Regions from separate parts of the Homo sapiens genome. Here region 1 is linked to region 2. Evidence: promoter capture Hi-C in human tissues and cell types (Jung and others, 2019). All regions are on one chromosome and are shown on one strand. Each heading gives the region's core, a stretch centred on a gene start or on the middle of the fragment in contact. The rest is flanking DNA. Distances are from core to core; before and after follow the strand shown. Region 1 holds the start of GRB7 (growth factor receptor bound protein 7). Region 2 overlaps IKZF3 (IKAROS family zinc finger 3).

What was found. The method cuts DNA at HindIII sites, captures the fragments that hold promoters and counts their contacts. A contact is called where the count stands out against the background at its distance.
Region 1: a contact is called between the fragment with the promoter of GRB7 here and a fragment that was not itself captured in region 2, in 2 of the 25 tissues and cell types used here (lymphoblastoid cells and psoas muscle).

The regions. Positions count from the first base shown.
Region 1 is chr17:39,734,765-39,739,454 of GRCh38, reverse strand. It overlaps GRB7 (growth factor receptor bound protein 7), which reads right to left and starts at 1,517. Exons shown (of 15, transcript NM_005310.5): 1 at 1,322-1,517. The HindIII fragment of the contact is 6,261 bases long and covers 1-3,677 here.
Region 2 is chr17:39,778,373-39,783,255 of GRCh38, reverse strand. All of the region lies in intron 6 of IKZF3 (IKAROS family zinc finger 3), which reads left to right. Among named protein-coding and RNA genes, the nearest start is that of GRB7, 43 kb to the right of the region's middle. RefSeq lists a silencer at 4,642-4,875. The HindIII fragment of the contact is 7,861 bases long and covers 1-4,883 here.

The sequences.
Region 1 (4,690 bases), core at 268-2,767, 42 kb after region 2:
GTGAGAAGGTGAGAAACCCCTGGATGACTCCTAGTATAAGGGAGGACCCAGGACTCTGAGGCCCCGCCCACTCTCACTCAGGAAAAATACCCAATGGGAGAAGGCGGGGCAGCTCTTTTAAAGTTTAATTCGGGAAGAATGCTGGAGTGTCTCTGCAGTTAATCATTACAGGCTGCCCGCCTCCATGAGGTCCCCCCACCAAGCATACAGTAGGATATCAGGAGAGGGGAGAGCAGAGTCCAAGACCGGCGGACCAAAAGAGGGCATTCCTGGGGGGCGGTGCGGCTAGTTGGGGGGCGGGGTGGGGGGCGTTCCACCTTGCCGGCAGATGCATTCATTCTCTGTCCTCAATCTGCCAGGGAGACCCAGACCGGGAACCTGGGTCTCTCCCTAGCCTCATCAAGCAGAAGAAACCATCTGCTATCCCCCACCCCACTCTCCCCAGGCCCCACCGCACTGCAGAGCCCCTCATACACCCCTCCAGCCTTCCTGCCCATTTCATGCTGAAGCCAGGAGGGACCCCGTCTCACCCGGCCTCCACTTTCCCATCGGAGGGCCGGAGGCGGTGTTGCTGAGAAGGGCATACAATCTGGAGAGATGAAGCCTCGACAATTTAGAGGATCCCTCTCCTTCACTGCCCTCCAAAGTGGAGGGGGCCCTCCCCACATCTCCCCGCAGCCCGCAGAGACGTCTGTCTTAGAGACTTGGGGAAACCCAAACTGGGGTAAACTGGGCGAGCCAGAGAGTGAGGGCGGCTCTCCCCGGGTGTGCGGGGAGGGGCTAGTTTCAGCGGGAAAGCCAAGTCGGAGGAGAGAATCAGGTCTTCCTTCCCATTCTCAGCTGCTGCCTGCAGGGAGGTGTACAGGGAGGGAACAAGGAGCGCTGGAAACCAGGATGGGGACGAAAAGAGGGCGGGTGGGGAGGAGGGGGCAGGGTGGGAAATGGACAGAAAAGAGAAAAGTGGGAGGCCAAGCAACCCATCAGGAGACCCAGCCTTTCCCTACCGGCCTCCAGACCGGCCGTGCCTGCCCCCAAAGGATAAATGCCCGCTTGGGTTCTTACCTGAACCCCGAGCGTCAGGACACCCGGCTGGGACCACGTCTTCAGGGAGGGAGACGCCAGGCCCTTAACTACCTGTCCCCCTCCAGCCCCCGCCCCTGGCCTGACATCACCGAGCGGGGGAGGGGGAGAGCCAGGTGGCTCCAATCCTCCCACCTGGGCCGCCGGCCAGTTCAGCCGGAGACTGGCACAGCCTGGGGCCCTGGTGCGGCTGGGGGTTGCCTGGCAGGCTGTCGTCTGAGACCGATCTCGGTCCCCTTACCTGGAGGAGCCCCAGCAGGAGTAGCAGGACACCCGTTCCGAAGTCTGGCTCCGTCTAGGAACCCCCAGATTCCTGGATTTTATTTCAGATCCACTCCCGCTTCTCTACAGGTGGTAGGAGGGTGTCCCGACTTCGGACAGAGAAGTCAGAGGCGGGGGGGAGCCCTGTGTGTCCAGATTCCAGGCCCAAGGAAACTAAAATTATCTTGGGCAGATGGGGGCGGGTCCAGGGGAGGCGCCTGGGAGGAGGAAACCTGGGAGGAGGGCGGAGACTCCCTGACTACGCCAACTGGGATTGTTTTTGCCCTTCCTAGCCTGGCAGCAGGTGCCAAGGGAGGATGCAGGTGCCTGGGGAGAGGCGGGGAAGACAGCCGAACAGACAGTACCACGAGCGAAGATCAAGAGTCCCGACCACCTGGGAGGGAGGGGGGAGGGCCTGGGGGCTGCAAGGTAAGGGGAACCACCCCATCCACTCTTTTCCAACACCCTCCCCGAACCTGGTCTGTTCATTGGCCAAGCCTGGGGGCCTGTCTGCAGCTCTGGATCCCACCCCATGGGGCAAAGAGCACCCTGCCGAGAGGGACGCCAGCCAGGGTGGTGTCCAGCAACATGGCCTGCCCCTCGATCTGCAGTCACCCTTACCGTGGTGGCTGCGCCCTGGCCCCTCAGAGGTACCCAGGGTAAGCCCTCCCTCCCCCGCCCCCCACCTTCTGAGCAAAGTCCAGAGTCTTGGCTTCTCCTTTAAAATCGAGGGGGTTAGGCAGGGTGGCACAGTGGGAGGAGCCATGGTGACCTGGAGAAAGCTCTGGCCTGGGCCCCTGGGGATTCCTCTTAGAGGGATCACTTTATTTTATTTTTTTTTGAGCCAGAGTCCCGCTCTGTCACCCAGGCTGGAGTGTAGTGGTGCCATCTTGGCGCACTGCAAACTCTGCCTCCCAGGTTCAAGCAATTCTCCTACCTCAGCCTCCGGAGTAGCTGGGATTACAGGCGCCTGCCACCACACCCAGCTAATTTTTGTATTTTTAGTAAAGATGGGGTTTCTCCATGTTAACCAAGTTGGTCTTGAACTCCTGACCTCAGGTGATCTGCCCACCTCGGCCTCCCAAAGTGTTAGGATTACAGGCATAAGCCACCACGCCCGGCCTGAGGGAACACTTTAGTTCTCTCAGGGATCACTTTAGCTGTCTCATTCAGTGCTGGGCAAACACAGGGTACTTGGGAGAGGGGTTAGGAGGTGGAGATCAAAGGCTGCGGCCACCACCCAGCTTGATGTGGGTGACAGGAAAACAAACAATCCTTAGGGTGATAAGAGGTCCACCCTGGAAGGGGCACGAATGAGTGGCTCCTGCCTCAATTTTCTCCAGAGTTTTCCTAGGAAAACCGGTATGAGTGGGCCCAGCAAAGAAGTGGGGGAGGAGGCAAGGTCTCTTTGGTGATGGAGCAGCTTGTGCAAAGGCAGAGTAGACAATTCACTCATTCATTTATTCAACTATCTGTTTAGTACCTACCATATGCCAGCCCCATGTTTTGTGCTGGGGATACAGGCGTAAACAACAAAAACAGACCCCGCCCATCCTCACACAGCCAATCAGGAAGATTGATGTTAACCAAAGAATCACACAAATAAGAAATGACAGGAGACAACTATGCTGGGAAAATGACTCACATAGGGAGTCAGGAAAGACTTCTCAGTGGAGGTGACAGCTGAGCAGAGGAGAAGCTGGCTGACATGGGAAGGGGGTTGGAATCGGTGGATGGGAATTGGGGAAGGAGGCCACTTTCCCCAGTGAGGAAATCAATGCCAGAGCTCTGGGCAGGAGGAGATGCAGCATGCGGAGACAGAGAGTGGGGTTGGAGGAGAAGGGAGGAAGCAGAGGCCACGTGGGTGAACCTGGACAGGTGTGGAAGGTGTGGAGAGAGGAAGCTGTGCTTCTGCAAATGTGGCCTCTAGACCTCCCTAACCTTGTGTGGAAAATAGATTCTTGGGCTCCTCTCCAGCAACTGAATCTCAGTCTCTAGGGCTAAGACCCAGGAAGGTGTGGTATTGACAAGCCCTCAGGTGGCTGTTCTGCAAACCAGGTTTGAGAGCCATCCATCCTGTTTGTCCAGATGGGCAGGAGTAGCGGTCAAAGACCAGACCCTGCAAGTTGTATTTAGACTTAAGTAGAAGCACAGAGGAGAGGGCACATTTACATTTTGGAAAGATCATCCTGGATATTGAAGGATGGGATGGAAACAAAGCCACAGTCAGAGGGCGGAGTGCTGTAGGAATCAACTTATATGGCTTTCTGGAGCGGGTGGAACTGTGTGAACAAAAACCAGGTCTGGGGTTGGGGAGGAGGGAGAGGGGTCCACAGTAGGGGGCACAGGGACTTGTGAGAGGTGATGGGACCATACTGTATCTTGGTTTTGGGGTTGGATGCACAAATGTGTGTGTTTCTTAGGACTCATAGAAAGGCACACTCAAGGCTGGGTGCGTGGTTCACCCCTGTAATTCCAGGACTTTGGGAGGCTGAGGCAGGTGGATCACGAGGTCAGGAGTTCAAGACCAGCCTGACCAACATGGCAAAACCCCGTCTCTACTAAAAATACAAAAATTAGCCGGGCGTGGTGGCGTACGCCTGTAATCTCAGCTACTCAGGAGGCTGAAGCAGGAGAATCTCTTGAACCCACGAGACGGAGGTTTCAGTGTGCTGAGTTCGAGCCATTGCACTCCAGCCTGGGAGACAAGAGCGAGACTCCATCTCAAGAAAAGAAAAAAAAAAGAAAGGTACACTCAAGAGGATGAATTTTACTGTGTATAAGTTGTATCTGAATTTAAAAACAACAACAACTATAAGGCCAGGTACGGTGGCTAACACCTGTAATCCCAACACTTTGAGAGGCCGAGGCAGGTGGATCATGAGGTCAGGAGTTCGAGACCAGCCTGGCCAACATGGTGAAACCCCGCCTCTGCTAAAAATGCAAAAATTAGCTGGGCATGGTGGTGTGCACCTATAATTCCAGCTACACAGGAGGCTGAGGCAGGAGAATTGCTTGAACCCAGGAGGCGGGGGTTGCAGTGAGCTGAGATCGTGCCACTGCACTCCAGCCAGGGTGACAGAGCAAGACTCCGTCTCGGGGGAAAATAATAATAATAATAAATAAGAATGCGTTTATAGGTCAATGGAACAGAATCCAGAGTCCAAGTAGAAACCCTTACATTTCTGGTCAATTGATTTTACAAGGTGCCAAGACAATTTCATGGAGGAAAGGATAGGCATTCAATAAATGCTGCTGTGATCAATTGGATAGCCACATGCCAAAAGGTGAATTTAGATCTTTTGCTCACAGGATGCATAAGAAAAAAAAAACTTGAAATAGATCAGAT
Region 2 (4,883 bases), core at 1,902-4,401:
ACCTGCCTCTGTCTTTGATACCAATCTCTTGTTAGACAATTTCTATTGCATAATAACACCACTTTGTTCCACTCTCCATTAGTTACTGACTGACTACACCATAGAAGAGACAGGAAGCAATACCTCTTATTTAAGCTCCACTTAACACTTCAAGATCTAATGAAGGATTTTGAACAAAAACAAAAGCACAACACAATTACATAGTTAAACCTCCAATGACTTTGAGGTAGAAATTGTATCATGGAAATAGTTAACTAAAACCAAATATTAAGACTTATACAGGGAATAAAGGTAGTAGTAACCTAATCTGTAAATGTGACTTTGTACTACATTTTATTATTTTTTCAGCACGTCTTTAAAATAACTTTTCTAATGAAAATTAGTATGTCTACTATTTAGTAGGCAAGCAATGTGAAGGGAAATTGATCCACAATGACAGTTCTACTCATTCTGTTCTCACTCATGAGCTGAATGTGCAAATTGTTCCTTGCCACCATCCCATATTCCCCACACCCACCACTTGCAGCATTACACCGCCAAACACCACCCAGGAACGGATTTCCTATTTCGTCATTTAAACCCATTATCTTGTTCCCTTACTATCTTGCCAAACTGGTTTCCCTCCACTTACATTTCTGAGATATGAAGTGGCAAGATAACAAGTCTAGACTGTTCGTATAAATAGACAGTTGGGTCCTAAAGTTGGAGAAAAGGACCAAAAGCCAATAGTCCTCTTTTTTTTCTTTTCAGTGCACTGCCTAAACCACTCAGTAATCCCAAAGAGCTTGTCCAGTTACAAAGCATTTCTTTGTGTATGTGTGATATGTGTGTGTGTGTGTGTGTTGTTGTTGTTGTTGTTGTTTAGAGACAGGGCTCACTGTGTTCCTCACACTGGAGTACAGTGGCAAGATCATAGCTCCCTGGGCTCAAGCAATCCTCCCACCTCAGCCTCCCAAAGTGCTGGATTACAGGCGCAAACCATGGAACCTGGCTCTTTGTGTTTCAAAGGGCACTCATTTCATGGTATTGTGCATCAGCTATCCAACAAGTGTGAGGCAAAAGACTAGCAGTTTAGGAAAGAAAATGAGTGCCATCTTCAATTGAAAACTAGCCTTTGCCTAACTTATCAACTAGAAAACAAGGTTAATTCAGTGAAGATCAACTGAATCAGTAGGAGTGTGTTCACATGTACAATGAGAGTGGAGCTCTTGTAGTTAATATTTTGAGTGAATGACCCAGAAAGAGGGTGTGGGTGAACAGGAGTCCTCTAGATTCGTTTCAGAGGATTTCTTTCAATCTAATCGGAGTTGTGGAAATGGGAAAGTCTCCACCCATGCCTCAAAATATGTCCATCCATGAACACTGCAGAATTTTATGTTTTTAAATGTCAGGCATTTGGTCACTGATTTACAGAATAATGTTTATCTGGAAATGACTCTAAAGACCAGTTTGGTGGGTAACGAGGAATAAAAGGTGATGTTATCTCAAAAGTTTGCCATTTAGTGACCTGCCCTAATTACAGTTATTTAGGTCAATGTGTCCACACTTCAGCATCCTCCCAAATGTAGAGGATGTTGATTACGTGTCCTCAGAAAGCTGCTTGTTTTAATTGACATTGACTTCAGTAAAATGTAGACAGCGACTGCTGAGAAACAAATGGGAAAACTAGATGGGTAGCACCGTGCTTGGGGTAATTCCTGGGTAATGATTTGGCAGTGAGAGGAGGGACCACAATAGACTAATAAGAACAATGGTAAAATGGGCATAAAAGGTAAACATTCCCAGAATACTGTTTTTCATTCTTTTTTTCCCTATAAATCTTTTTGTTGATAACTACAGGGTTGAGGGGAGGCTTACTTGGATTTAATCTTCTCAAAATTGCTGGAACCAGGATGAATGTTCCTAGTCAAAGTGCAAACTTAGCTACCTCTCCCCTGATTCTAAGAAAAAAGTCTCCTAACAGCCCCAGGAACTTACTGCAAATTCCAAGCTTTGTCTTTCATCTCTCTGCTCTTGGGGCTTTGGGTAGTGCCACATCTGGTGGTGGTTTTGTGTGAAAGGAAATAATATATATAAATAATTTCCTGTTTGGTCATTTAAACCTATCCCTGTGCTGGACAGAATTTGACCCTCTTCACTCAATAGCAGTGTCTTGTGGCTGAAGTGCCCGTTATTTACAACTGCTGGTCAGCCAGAGTCAGTCGAGTACTTTTGCACTAGCCCAAAAGCCACTCAGGCCCCCTATTCTGACCCTTACTGTTTTCATTTACACAAATAGTTGTTAATAGCTTCACTGAAGGCTATGATTTATTCCTTTAGAGCCTAGAATTATTTTTGACAAGAAACTCACTGTCTAGTAAATATTGTCATTATTATCACATTATTATCATCCTCTTCTTTTTCATTTTTGGAGCTGGATTTCTTTTTCTTTTTAAGAGATGGGATCTCACTGTGTTGCCCAAGCTGAACTTGAACTCCTAGGCTCAAGCCATCCTCTCACCTCAGCCTCCTGAGTAGCTGGGACTATGGGCTAGTGCCACCACACCTGGCAGAGCCAGATTTTATGTTATTCCAGGAAAAAAAAAAAAGCTGAGCTTTGGCTGAGTGCAGTGGCTCATGCCTGTAATCCCAACACTTTGGGAGGCTGAAGTGGGAGGACTGCCTGAGGCCAAGAGTTGGAGACCAGACTGAGCAATATATTGAGACTAATAATTTTTTTTTTTAATTAGCCAGGCATGGTGGCTTTAGACTGTAGTCCCAGCAACTTTGGAACCTGAGGTAGAAGGATTACTTGAGCCCAGGAGGTTGAGCCTGCAGTGAGCTGTGATCATGCCACTGCACTCCACCCTGGGTAACAGAGTTGAGACCCTGTTTCAAAAATAAGTAAATAAATTAACTAAATAATGAAAACTGAGCTTTATAATGTATTGTGTAATGACTAACATACAGTTTTTTAAGGCCACTAATAAAATTAGAAATATTTAATACTTTGGGGCTTTTTTTTTTTTTTTTAGACAGAGTCTCACTCTGTCACGCAGGCTGGAGTGCACTGGCACTAATAGGTTGGTGCAAAAGTAATTGTGGTCTTTGCAGTTACCTTAATAGTTCACCGTAACCTCAAACCCCTGGGCTCAAGGAACCCTCCCACCTCAGTCTCCCAAGTAGCTAGGACTACAGGCGCATGCCAACATGCCCAGCTAATTTTTTAAAATTACTTTTTGTAGGAACAGGATCTTGCTATATTGCCCAGGTTGGTCTCAACTCCTGGCCTCAAGCAATCTTCCTGCCTCAGTCTCCCAAAGCACTGGGATTACAGGGGTGAGCCACTGTGCCAGCCACTACTTGCTTTTTACTCTAATCCCTTAAACTAATTTCAATTTATTCTTCCTTAGACATAATAGAAATGTATGGATAGTTCATTTTAGTTTGGATCTCCCGAAGTGTTTATGAGAAAACAGAGAAAAATGTTTACAGCATCACAATATGTTTGCCCAGGGCAGGTGAGGGCAAACTGTGGCGCTCTAGGCAAGTGCAGCCAGTGGCCTGTTTGTGTACAGGGATTTTTACGTTTTTAAAAGGCCGTGGAACAGAAAAAAAAAAAACAAAAAACAAAGAATATAACATAGAGACTATATGTGTCTGGCAAATTTTTAAAATTTACTGTCTGGCCCTTTACAGACAAAAGTTTGCTGATCCCTGGTTCAGGCTAGCATCATGTGTTAAAATGTCAAGCCTTGTATTTAGAGAAGCTGGTATCTCTTTGAAATTTATTTAATTAATTTATTTATTTTTTGGAGATGGAGTTTTGCTCTTATTGCCCAGGCTGGAGTGCAATGGCTCAATCTCGGCTCACCACAACCTCTGCCTCCTGGGTTCAAGCGATTCTCCGGCCTCAGCCTCCCGAGAGCTAAGATTACAGGCATTCGCCACCACACCCAGCTAATTATTTATATTTTTAGTAGAGATGGGGTTTCTCCATGTTGGTCAGGCTGGTCTTGAACTCCCGACCTCAGGTGATCTGCCCGCCTCGGCCTTGCAAAGTGCTGGGATTATAGACGTGAGCCACCGTGCCTGGCCTTCTTTGAACTTTAGACATAAATTTGGGCACTGCCTGCTGAATTGAGGTAAATTATATTCATTACAGTTTACTATTTTAGTTGATTAGATATTGCCACTATTTATATACTCTTCTAGTAGTTCTCAATTCTGGCTGCATTTTAAAATCATCTGGGGAGCTTTGAAAATATTCTTGCCTAGGCCCCTATACCAGAAATCCTGATTTAATTGATCTGAAGGGGGGCCTGGGCATAGGTATTTCTTACCTGCTATTCAGGTGAGTCTAATGTGCAGCCAGGTCTGAGAACCACAGGCCTACACCACTCACAGGTCTATTTGTGGATGGGCCCACATTCATAGGCAGGTTTTTTTGTGTTTTGTTTGTTTCTTTGTTTTTTGAGACGGAATTTTGCCCTTGTTGCCCAGGCAGGAGTGCAATGGCGCCATCTCGGCTCACTGCAACCTCTGCCTCCCAGGTTCAAGTGATTCTCCTGCCTCAGCCTCCCGAGTAGCTGGGATTACAGGCATGCACCATCACACCAGGCTAATTTTGTATTTTTAGTAGAGACAGGGTTTCTCCAAGTTGGTCAGGCTGGTCTCGAACTCCGACCTCAGGTGATCTGCCCACCTCCACCTCCCAAAGTGCTGGGATTACAGGCATGAGCCACCGCACCCAGCCCATAGGCAGTTTTTATTCACATTTTTATTAGAAATTCAATACAGATGCATTATACAAATTGTTCTTTAATTTCAAGGCAGAAGTGTTGCTTAGGGAAATTTTAATTGAGACTATTTTGAAATGTGAAGAGCATATGAAACAGATAATA